Regions from separate parts of the Homo sapiens genome. Here regions 1 and 2 are each linked to region 3. The links are contacts of gene promoters, found by promoter capture Hi-C in blood cells and fetal thymus (Javierre and others, 2016). All regions are on one chromosome and are shown on one strand. Each heading gives the region's core, a stretch centred on a gene start or on the middle of the fragment in contact. The rest is flanking DNA. Distances are from core to core; before and after follow the strand shown.

The links. Contacts are between HindIII fragments. The CHiCAGO score rates a contact against its expected background, and 5 or more counts as called.
Region 1: a fragment that was not itself captured here is called in contact with the fragment with the promoter of PPARD in region 3 in 8 of 17 cell types (total CD8 T cells, non-activated CD4 T cells, naive CD4 T cells and 5 more); the score reaches 9.5 in total CD8 T cells.
Region 2: a contact is called between a fragment that was not itself captured here and the fragment with the promoter of PPARD in region 3, in 2 of 17 cell types (naive CD4 T cells and total CD8 T cells). The highest score is 5.7, in naive CD4 T cells.

The regions. Positions count from the first base shown.
Region 1 is chr6:35,553,698-35,556,397 of GRCh38, reverse strand. It overlaps the pseudogene RPS15AP19. Among named protein-coding and RNA genes, the nearest start is that of LINC03135, 11 kb to the right of the region's middle. The HindIII fragment of the contact is 1,745 bases long and covers 557-2,301 here.
Region 2 is chr6:35,571,687-35,574,386 of GRCh38, reverse strand. It overlaps FKBP5 (FKBP prolyl isomerase 5), which reads left to right. Exons shown (of 11, transcript NM_004117.4): 11 at 1-797. Among named protein-coding and RNA genes, the nearest start is that of LINC03135, 29 kb to the right of the region's middle. The HindIII fragment of the contact is 3,206 bases long and covers 1-2,700 here.
Region 3 is chr6:35,341,308-35,344,007 of GRCh38, reverse strand. PPARD (peroxisome proliferator activated receptor delta) reads right to left here and starts at 1,450. Exons shown (of 8, transcript NM_006238.5): 1 at 1,327-1,450. RefSeq lists silencers at 989-1,038, 1,069-1,208, 1,389-1,598. The HindIII fragment of the contact is 7,732 bases long and covers 1-2,156 here.

The DNA.
Region 1 (2,700 bases), core at 180-2,679, 210 kb before region 3:
GAGCCCAGGAGTTCTAGGCTGCAGTGAGCCATGATTGTGCCACTGCACTCCAGCCTGGGTGACAGAGCAAGACCCTGTCTTTTTTCTTTTTTTTCCATGAGACATTTTATTTGTAAATATATGTATTACATCCCTAGAAAAAGAATCCCAGGATTTTCCCTCCTGTGTGTTTTCGTCTTGCTTCTTCATGGTCCATGATGCCAGCTGAGGTTGTCAGTACAATGAAACCAAACTGGTGGGATGGAAGCAGATTATTCTGCCATTTTCTAGATCTTTGAGTTGCACACCGAATCTGGGGCTGATCACTCCACACTTGTTTAGCCTGCCTGTGAGGTTCGCAACAATTTTCCCAGCTCTGCGATCATCAATGATTTCAAATTCGCCAATGTAACCATGCTTCATCATCACAGTGAGAAACCGGACGATGAGTTTGGAGCACGGCCTAATAAGCACTGGGCGTTTGCCTCTCTTTTCGGCATTGTTGATGCTCTTGAGAGCATCGGCCAGGACGTTCACGCACACCATGGTGGCGTCGTGGGAAGATGGCGGAAAAGCTTTTTTTTTTTAAGAGACAACTTATCAACTATATTCATTCCATTCTTGGGGCACAGTTAGGTTGTTCCCACATTTTTACTATTGTGAACAGTGCTACGACACATATCCTTGTACACCTGTCTCCTTGTGTCCATGTATGAAAGTCGACATAGGGTCTAAGCATCTGCAACTTCACTAGGTATTGACAAACTCCCAAGTAGTTGTACTAGTTTACCAAAAACCATCAGCGTGAGTATGAGTTCAGGTTTCCCACATATTTACCACCATTTGGTTTTAGAAAATCCATTAACTTTTTCCAATTTTATGGGACATTATATCTCACTGTTGCTTTGATTTCTATGTCCTTGATTCTAGGTGAGGCTTAGCAACTTGTCATATGAAAGGTTATTGGGGGCTGGGCAAGGTGGCTCACACCTGTGATCCCAGCACTTTAGGAGGCAAAGGCAGGGGGATCGCTTGAGCCCAGGAGTTCAAGGCCAGTCTAGGCAACACAGCGAGAACCTGTCTCTATTAATAAAAAAAGAAAAAAGAAAAGAAAGGTTATTGGGAAGCCCCAGAATGGAAGTCTCTGTGGCTTTTTCCTCTTGAGCTGGTCCATTTCCCCAGAGAGGAATTTTCCTGGAAGTCAGCATCCACTCACCCATGCTCTTTCCAGGCTGTTACCTCCCTCCATCCTCAGCTGAGTCTGGGGTTGCCAAGGTCACCAAGTTGAACATGTATATGGCACAGCCTTGCCAGAGAAGAGGCCAGTGTTCCGCTTGGAGCAGGGAGGGGCAGCTGCCTGGCTGCATGTAATGGGAGTGGTCTCTGGAAGACTTTCAGCTTCTCCTCTCTTTCAGCCCCATGCTGAACACCCCCCTTCAGAAGCACCTACTGCCTTGCGCAGGCTCTGCGTTACAAACCCACTTCCTTTTGGCTGGCCAGGTCCTCTGCATACTTGGTGCCACCTTCTCCCTGCTGCTGACTCTGTCACCCTCCAGCCATCCCCTTTCCAGCTTCTAAAATTCTGCCAGCGCTGTGTGCTGCTCTCTCCTGTCCTGTTCATTCCCTTTGTCCTTTTGGCTTGATACTTCTTAAATTCCTTTACTGTCTTTTCAGAGGAAAGGGGCTTCCATGGGGAGAAGAGTGTATGTTAGGCCCACCATTTTTATTTTTTATTTATTTTTACTTATTTATTTTGAGATGGAGCCTGTTGCCCAGGCTGGAGTGCAATGGTGTGATCTCAGCTTACTGCAACCTCTGCTTCCTGGGTTCAAGCAATTCTTCTGCCTCAGCCTCCCAAGTAGCTGGGATTACAGGTGTGTGCCACCACACCTGGCTAATTTTTGTATCTGTAGTAGAGACAGGGTTTCACCATGTTGACCAGGCTGGTCTCAAACTCCTGACCTCAAGTGATTCGCCCGCCTCGGCTTCCCAAAGTGCTGGGATTATAGGTGTGAGCCACTGCACCCGGCCAGGGCCTCTATATTTAAACGGACACTGTGTAGGTATTTAGTCTAGAATGTACTTTGTATGGTGGAAGGTAAGGATCTAATATTAGCTTTTTCAGCACCACGTACCGCTTAGTCCATTCTTTCCTTCATGGTTTGTTATGCCACCTCTGTCAGAGCCAAACTCCTGCACCCGTTGGATTTCTTTCTAGGCTGCCAATTCTGTTCCATTAGGATGGATAAAGAGGGACAAAGACACACAGCTATCCATGTGCCAAGACCATAGTTTTAATCATGATAGCTGGTGGTGAAAGCTTATTCTTGTTCCTCTTCAAAATTGTTTTTGTTGGGTCAGGCACAGTGGCTCACGCCTGTAATCCCAACACCTTGGGAGGCTGAGGTGGGTGGATCACCTGAGGTCAGGAGTTCAAGACCAGCCTGGCCAACATGATGAAACCCCGTCTCTGCTAAAAATACAAAAATAGCCCGGTATGGTGGCCTGTGCTTGTAATCCCAGCTACTTCGGAGGCTGAGGCACAAGAATCGCTTGAACTTGGGAGGCAGAGGTTACAGTGAGCCCAGAGCATACCACTGCACTCCAGCTTGGGCGACAGAGCAAGACCCTGTCTCAAAAAAAGAAAAAAATTGTTTTTTTTGGACTTCTGGTTTGTGTATGGTAGAATAAAATTAGCATTTTCCTCCCTCCTCTCAAAAA
Region 2 (2,700 bases), core at 131-2,630, 230 kb before region 3:
GAACCATTTGCTTAAACCTGGAACATCTCACCTTTTTAAATCCTAAAAAACACTGGCAGTTATATTTTAAATTAGTTTTTATTTTTATGATGGTTTTATCAAAAGACTTTTATTATTAGATTGGGACCCCCTTCAAACCTAAAAATCAAGTTATTTCCTTTTATAATACTTTTCTTCCCCATGGAACAAATGGGATCAATTTGTGAGTTTTTTCCTTTAATGATAACTAAAATCCCTCTAATTTCTCATTTATGCTTTTGTCTTTTTTATGAAATATTTCTTTTAAAAGCCCCAGTCTCACCTACGAAATATGAAGAGCAAAAGCTGATTTTGCTTACTTGCTAAACTGTTGGGAAAGCTCTGTAGAGCATGGTTCCAGTGAGGCCAAGATTGAAATTTGATACTAAAAAGGCCACCTAGCTTTTTGCAGATAACAAACAAGAAAGCTATTCCAAGACTCAGATGATGCCAGCTGTCTCCCACGTGTGTATTATGGTTCACCAGGGGGAACTGGCAAAAGTGTGTGTGGGGAGGGGAAGGGTGTGTGAGTGGTTCTGAGCAAATAACTACAGGGTGCCCATTACCACTCAAGAAGACACTTCACGTATTCTTGTATCAAATTCAATAATCTTAAACAATTTGTGTAGAAGTCCACAGACATCTTTCAACCACCTTTTAGGCTGCATATGGATTGCCAAGTCAGCATATGAGGAATTAAAGACATTGTTTTTAAAAAAAAAAAATCATTTAGATGCACTTTTTTGTGTGTTCTTTAAATAAATCCAAAAAAAATGTGACTTCCCATTGTTTTTGGTTTTGCTTAAGTGATTTTCAGGGAAAGCTATATTGGTTAAAAAACCATGGTGGGGGCCAACTTGAAGAAATTAGACATCAGAGAGGTCAGGCGTAGTGGCTCATGCCTGTAATCCCAGCACTTTGGGAGGCCAAGGCAGGTGCATCACCTGAGGTCAGGAGTTTGAGACCAGCCTGGCCAATGTGGTAAAACCCTGTCTCTACTAAAAATACAAAAATTAGCCAGGTGTGGTGGTGCACACCTGTAATCCCAGCTACTCAGGAGGCTGAGGCAGGAGAATCACTTGAACCTGGGAAGTGGAAGTTGCAGTGAGCCAAGATTGTGCCACTGCACTCTGGCCTGGGTGACAGTGAGACTTGGTCTCAAAAAAAAAAAAAAAAAAAAAAAATCAGAAAATCGGCAATGGACAGTATCATCCTACACTTTGCTCTAAGGTGAACCTGAAACCAACATTGGGGTGAAAGTGGCAGAACAATGCATCGTTGCTAAAAAGAACCAAGTAATGGGAAAAATAAAAAGGTTTTGTTTTTTCATTAGCCAGCGGATATTTCACCTTTTTAAGCTGATTTTAAGGTAGGCTCGACTTGCAAAATAAAATTTAATTGTGCCCTTTAATAAATATATGAAACATAAGTAAGGCTATCTAAGGTGGTGGTCCATATTGAGCATGCATTTTCTTTCTTAAGTAGCATATATCATCAATACTCATCATCACAGACTCTCAAGGCCTAAGGAGATGTCACATATACTGCAAATCCTCATTTTCACACTGCAAAAGAAGGTGGCACAGTGCTGGAAGGTACTTAGTAGGACCTCTGAGGTCTACAGACAGGTTGATGCAGGTTCTAGGCACCCTTTATTCCCTCTGAATTCTTGGCTTCATCTCTGGATTTGAATTATATTTCTCCCTCCTCCCTGTTAAATTATTTGGTAATGAAATAAATTCCTAGCTAGGTGCGGTTGCTTATGCTTATAACCCCAGCACTTTGGGAGGCCGAGGTGGGCAGGTTGCTTGAGCCCAGGAGTTCGAGACCAGCCTGGGCAACATGGCAAGACCCTGTCTCTACAAAAAGTACAAAAATTAGACAGACATGATGGTATGCACCTTTAGGCCCAGTTACAGGCTGAGGTGGGAGGATCACTTGAGCCCTGGGAGGTTGAGGCTGCAGTGAGCCATGATCATGCCACTGCACTCCAGCCTGGGTGACAGAGCAAGACCCTATCTCAACCATAATAAATTCCCTTTATTTGCGTGCTTTTTTTTTGTAAGAAAATAATGATCACCCTAGGGATCTTGAGGATGAGCCAGAGAAGATTCCTGGCTGTAAATGTGTGATCTCAGAAATTCAGAGGCAGCTTGCACAACCTCCAAAACGAGGACTGCCAGTGAAGGGCTTTGTCTATACTTACTTGGCCTTAGCAGCACACTGAACTCCACTTTTAGTATGGTACATGTGAAGCCTGTATTCTCTGGGGCTGGAGACTATCTCCAGTATTGGTGACAAAACGCATTGAATTTGAGCCAGTTAGTCAAAATCCTGAAACTCAGAATTCCCCAACCCAGCTGTGTATTTTTTCCATCAGCTGGCTACTTATGCATCTGAATGACAGTGACTGACGAAAGTACATAAAAGGACATTCTCTGATGGCTTGAAAAGTTTTGGTAGACCTTCAGTACTTCCCTTCAGATTTTTCTCTACTACATGTCTGACATGGAGATTTCTGTGGGAGGAGAAGGCACTATCTGTAATTGCCCAGAATCTCCACGTGTGACCTTAATAATACACGGCAAGAAAGAGACAGCGTTAAATACAACTCTTAAGATTTTTGACAGCATCTTGTTTGGGTAACTGCAGCCTATAGTTAGAAAAATTAAAGCACAGTTT
Region 3 (2,700 bases), core at 201-2,700:
AAAACTCAAACGGGAAAAAAAAAAGTTCTGGAGCCAGTACACAGAAAAAAGGTTGAGGACCACAAGTATTTTCTGGAGCACAGCTTCTGGAGAATTCTCTTAGTCCTTTCGGATGGAGCACAGGGTGGAGGGTGGGAGTGAGGGCAGAGAGAGGCTGGGGTATCATGGTATAAGTGTATTCCACACATCCAGAGTGGAAAGACACAAAACCCCGGTTCCTGGAAGGGGAAAAGAATTGGACAAAGCCTCCGGCTACCCGTGGCACACATCCAGCTCAGCGCCGTCTCCCCCAAGGGTTCCTGGAAGTCAACAGCCCCATAAAGGGGAAGTATTAAAGCTGAGATAAGAAGAATGGCCTACAAATTGGACATCATCTCTGATGCAACACCCACGTACATTCTCCCACACAATCTGTTATTTCCTTTAGTCAATCAGCCTCTTAATTCGATCAAGGTCTGAACACCTCCACCCCCACCCCATGGTTATGTCAACTGCAGGTCAAGTGAAAGTAGAGTAGAGTGTGGAGCTAAGGCTTCTCCCTGAAGCAGGGGAAAGGAACAGGGAGAGAAAAGGAGGTGGGCGACAGGAATGTAGGGGACAGAATTGATACGAAGGAAATCGGAAAAAGGAGCAAAAACAGGGCCTCTCAGGGAACCAAGGTGAGAGTCTTAGGGAGACAGGGACTGCAGGCACGGAGTTGGAAAAAGCCTAGGAACACCCTGGGGAAGAGGATGGGGACCCATAATACTAGGAGGGATCAGACCACAGATAAGAAGGGGACAGGGATGGGGAGAGAGAGTAAAGCCTGAGAGAGCAAGGATGGGAGGATGAAGGCAGGAGACAAGGATAACGAGGGGGACAGAGGAAAAGATCCCAGAGAAGACTCTCGCTAGATAGGGCAGTGGATTCAGGAACACCAGAAACGGGTGAAGGAAGAGGTCAGAGGCAGGGGAGGGGAATGGGAGAGGCCCCCGGGCCTGAGACGGGGTTCTCACAAGTGGGAGAAGACGAAGCCACCAGGCCCAAGAGGGGGCAAAGAGTAGGGTGGAAGGAGGCCCGTATTTCGGACTCACTCAAGCAGCTATGGGGGTCCAAGGGCGGGGGGGCGCAGGGTCAGCGGGGCGCCTACATGGCAACGCACGACGGCTGACCGGAGCGGGCCGGAGCATCAGGAAGCCGCCGTGACGCTGTCCGCGGACCCCGGCAGCTCCCCGCACCCCGTTCCCCGCCGCCGGGCCTTGCGCCCCAGTCCCGCTGGCCGCCTCGGCCCAGGCCCGGCGCTTCCCTCCGCCACTTGCCTGACCGCTTCTCTCGTCTCGGACTGACCTGTCCCGGCTGCCTACGGCGCCACCGCCGCCGTCCCGCAGGCTCCGCAGAATTCTCCCGCTCCTGCCAAAACTTTTCCCATTAATCCCCAGGTCCGCGGCGGCCGCAGCGTCACACGCTCCGCGGCCCGGCCCCGCCCCCGCCAGCGAGACGTCACCGCGCTGCTCGGCCTTTCCCTCCCCACGCCCCCTTCCGCCCGGCGGCGGCCAATCACCACGCCTCCTGGAGACTCCCCTAATTCTGCCTCTCCGCCCACCGCACGCTGCCCCGGGCCAGCCTGTGGCGCCCTCTGGTGCGGGATGCGGACGTAGCAGCTAAGGGAGGAGCAGGGGAGCGCCAGGTCCAGTAGAACAAGTCCAGCAAGTGACACAAGAGGGAATTTAAAGCTGGAAGGGAATTTCTAGGTCATCTAGTGCAACCTCCTCATCTTCCAGTGAAGAAACTTAGTCCTAGAAAAGGTACGTGACTTGCAGTGACAAGTCTGGAGAGACTCTTAACCCAGTGCTAGGTCCACTGGAGGAGATCATATCGCCTATAATTTTCAAAAAAGGGCTTTCCGCCTTCAAGAGGCTTCTACAACTGGAAATTTACGGTCTTAGAGTTCTTAACCTTTCTTCCCATGTGCTTATGCAATACGCTTATTCACCTAAAATAGGGGACATCCTCCTTATTGTTGTAGAAAATTCTGTTCTTATTAATCCACATCTTTAAGACCTGGAAGGGACCTATTATCCCAACCTACCGCTTAAGATGTACCACAGGAAACTACCTAGCAGCTGGGAGGCAATCTGGTGGAAGAAGTTGGCTTTCATCTGACGATGAACAAAGCTTGACTCTCAGGTATATGACCAATGCCTCCCCTCCATCATCATTAAAGATGACCCCTCCCCTCTCCTTCGGCCACACCTTCCGTAGGCCGCAAGCTCCTTAGGCCACACCTAGCTATCTGGATGAGTGATTTTTTTTTTTTTTTTTTTTTTTGAGACACAGTTTCACTCTGTCGCCCCTGCTGGAGTGCAGTTGCGCAATCTCAGCCCGCTGCAACCTCCGCCTCCCGGGTTCAAGCGATTATCCTGCCTCAACCTCCCAAGTAGCTGGGATTACAGGCATGCGCCACACGCCCAGCTAATTATTGTAATTTTAGTAGAGACAGGGTTTTGCCATGTTGCCCAGGCTGGTCTTGAACTCCTGGACTCAAGTTATCCTCCCACCTTAGCCTCCCAAAGTGCTGGAATTACAGGCGTGAGCCACCGTGCCTGGCAGGGATGAGTGATTTTTTCCCCCTTCTTTCTGCTTCTCTTTTTCTTTTTCTTTTTTTTCCCCTACTTTTTGAAATGCTTGTGCATTATATTTGTAACTTAGATGTCAACCTCC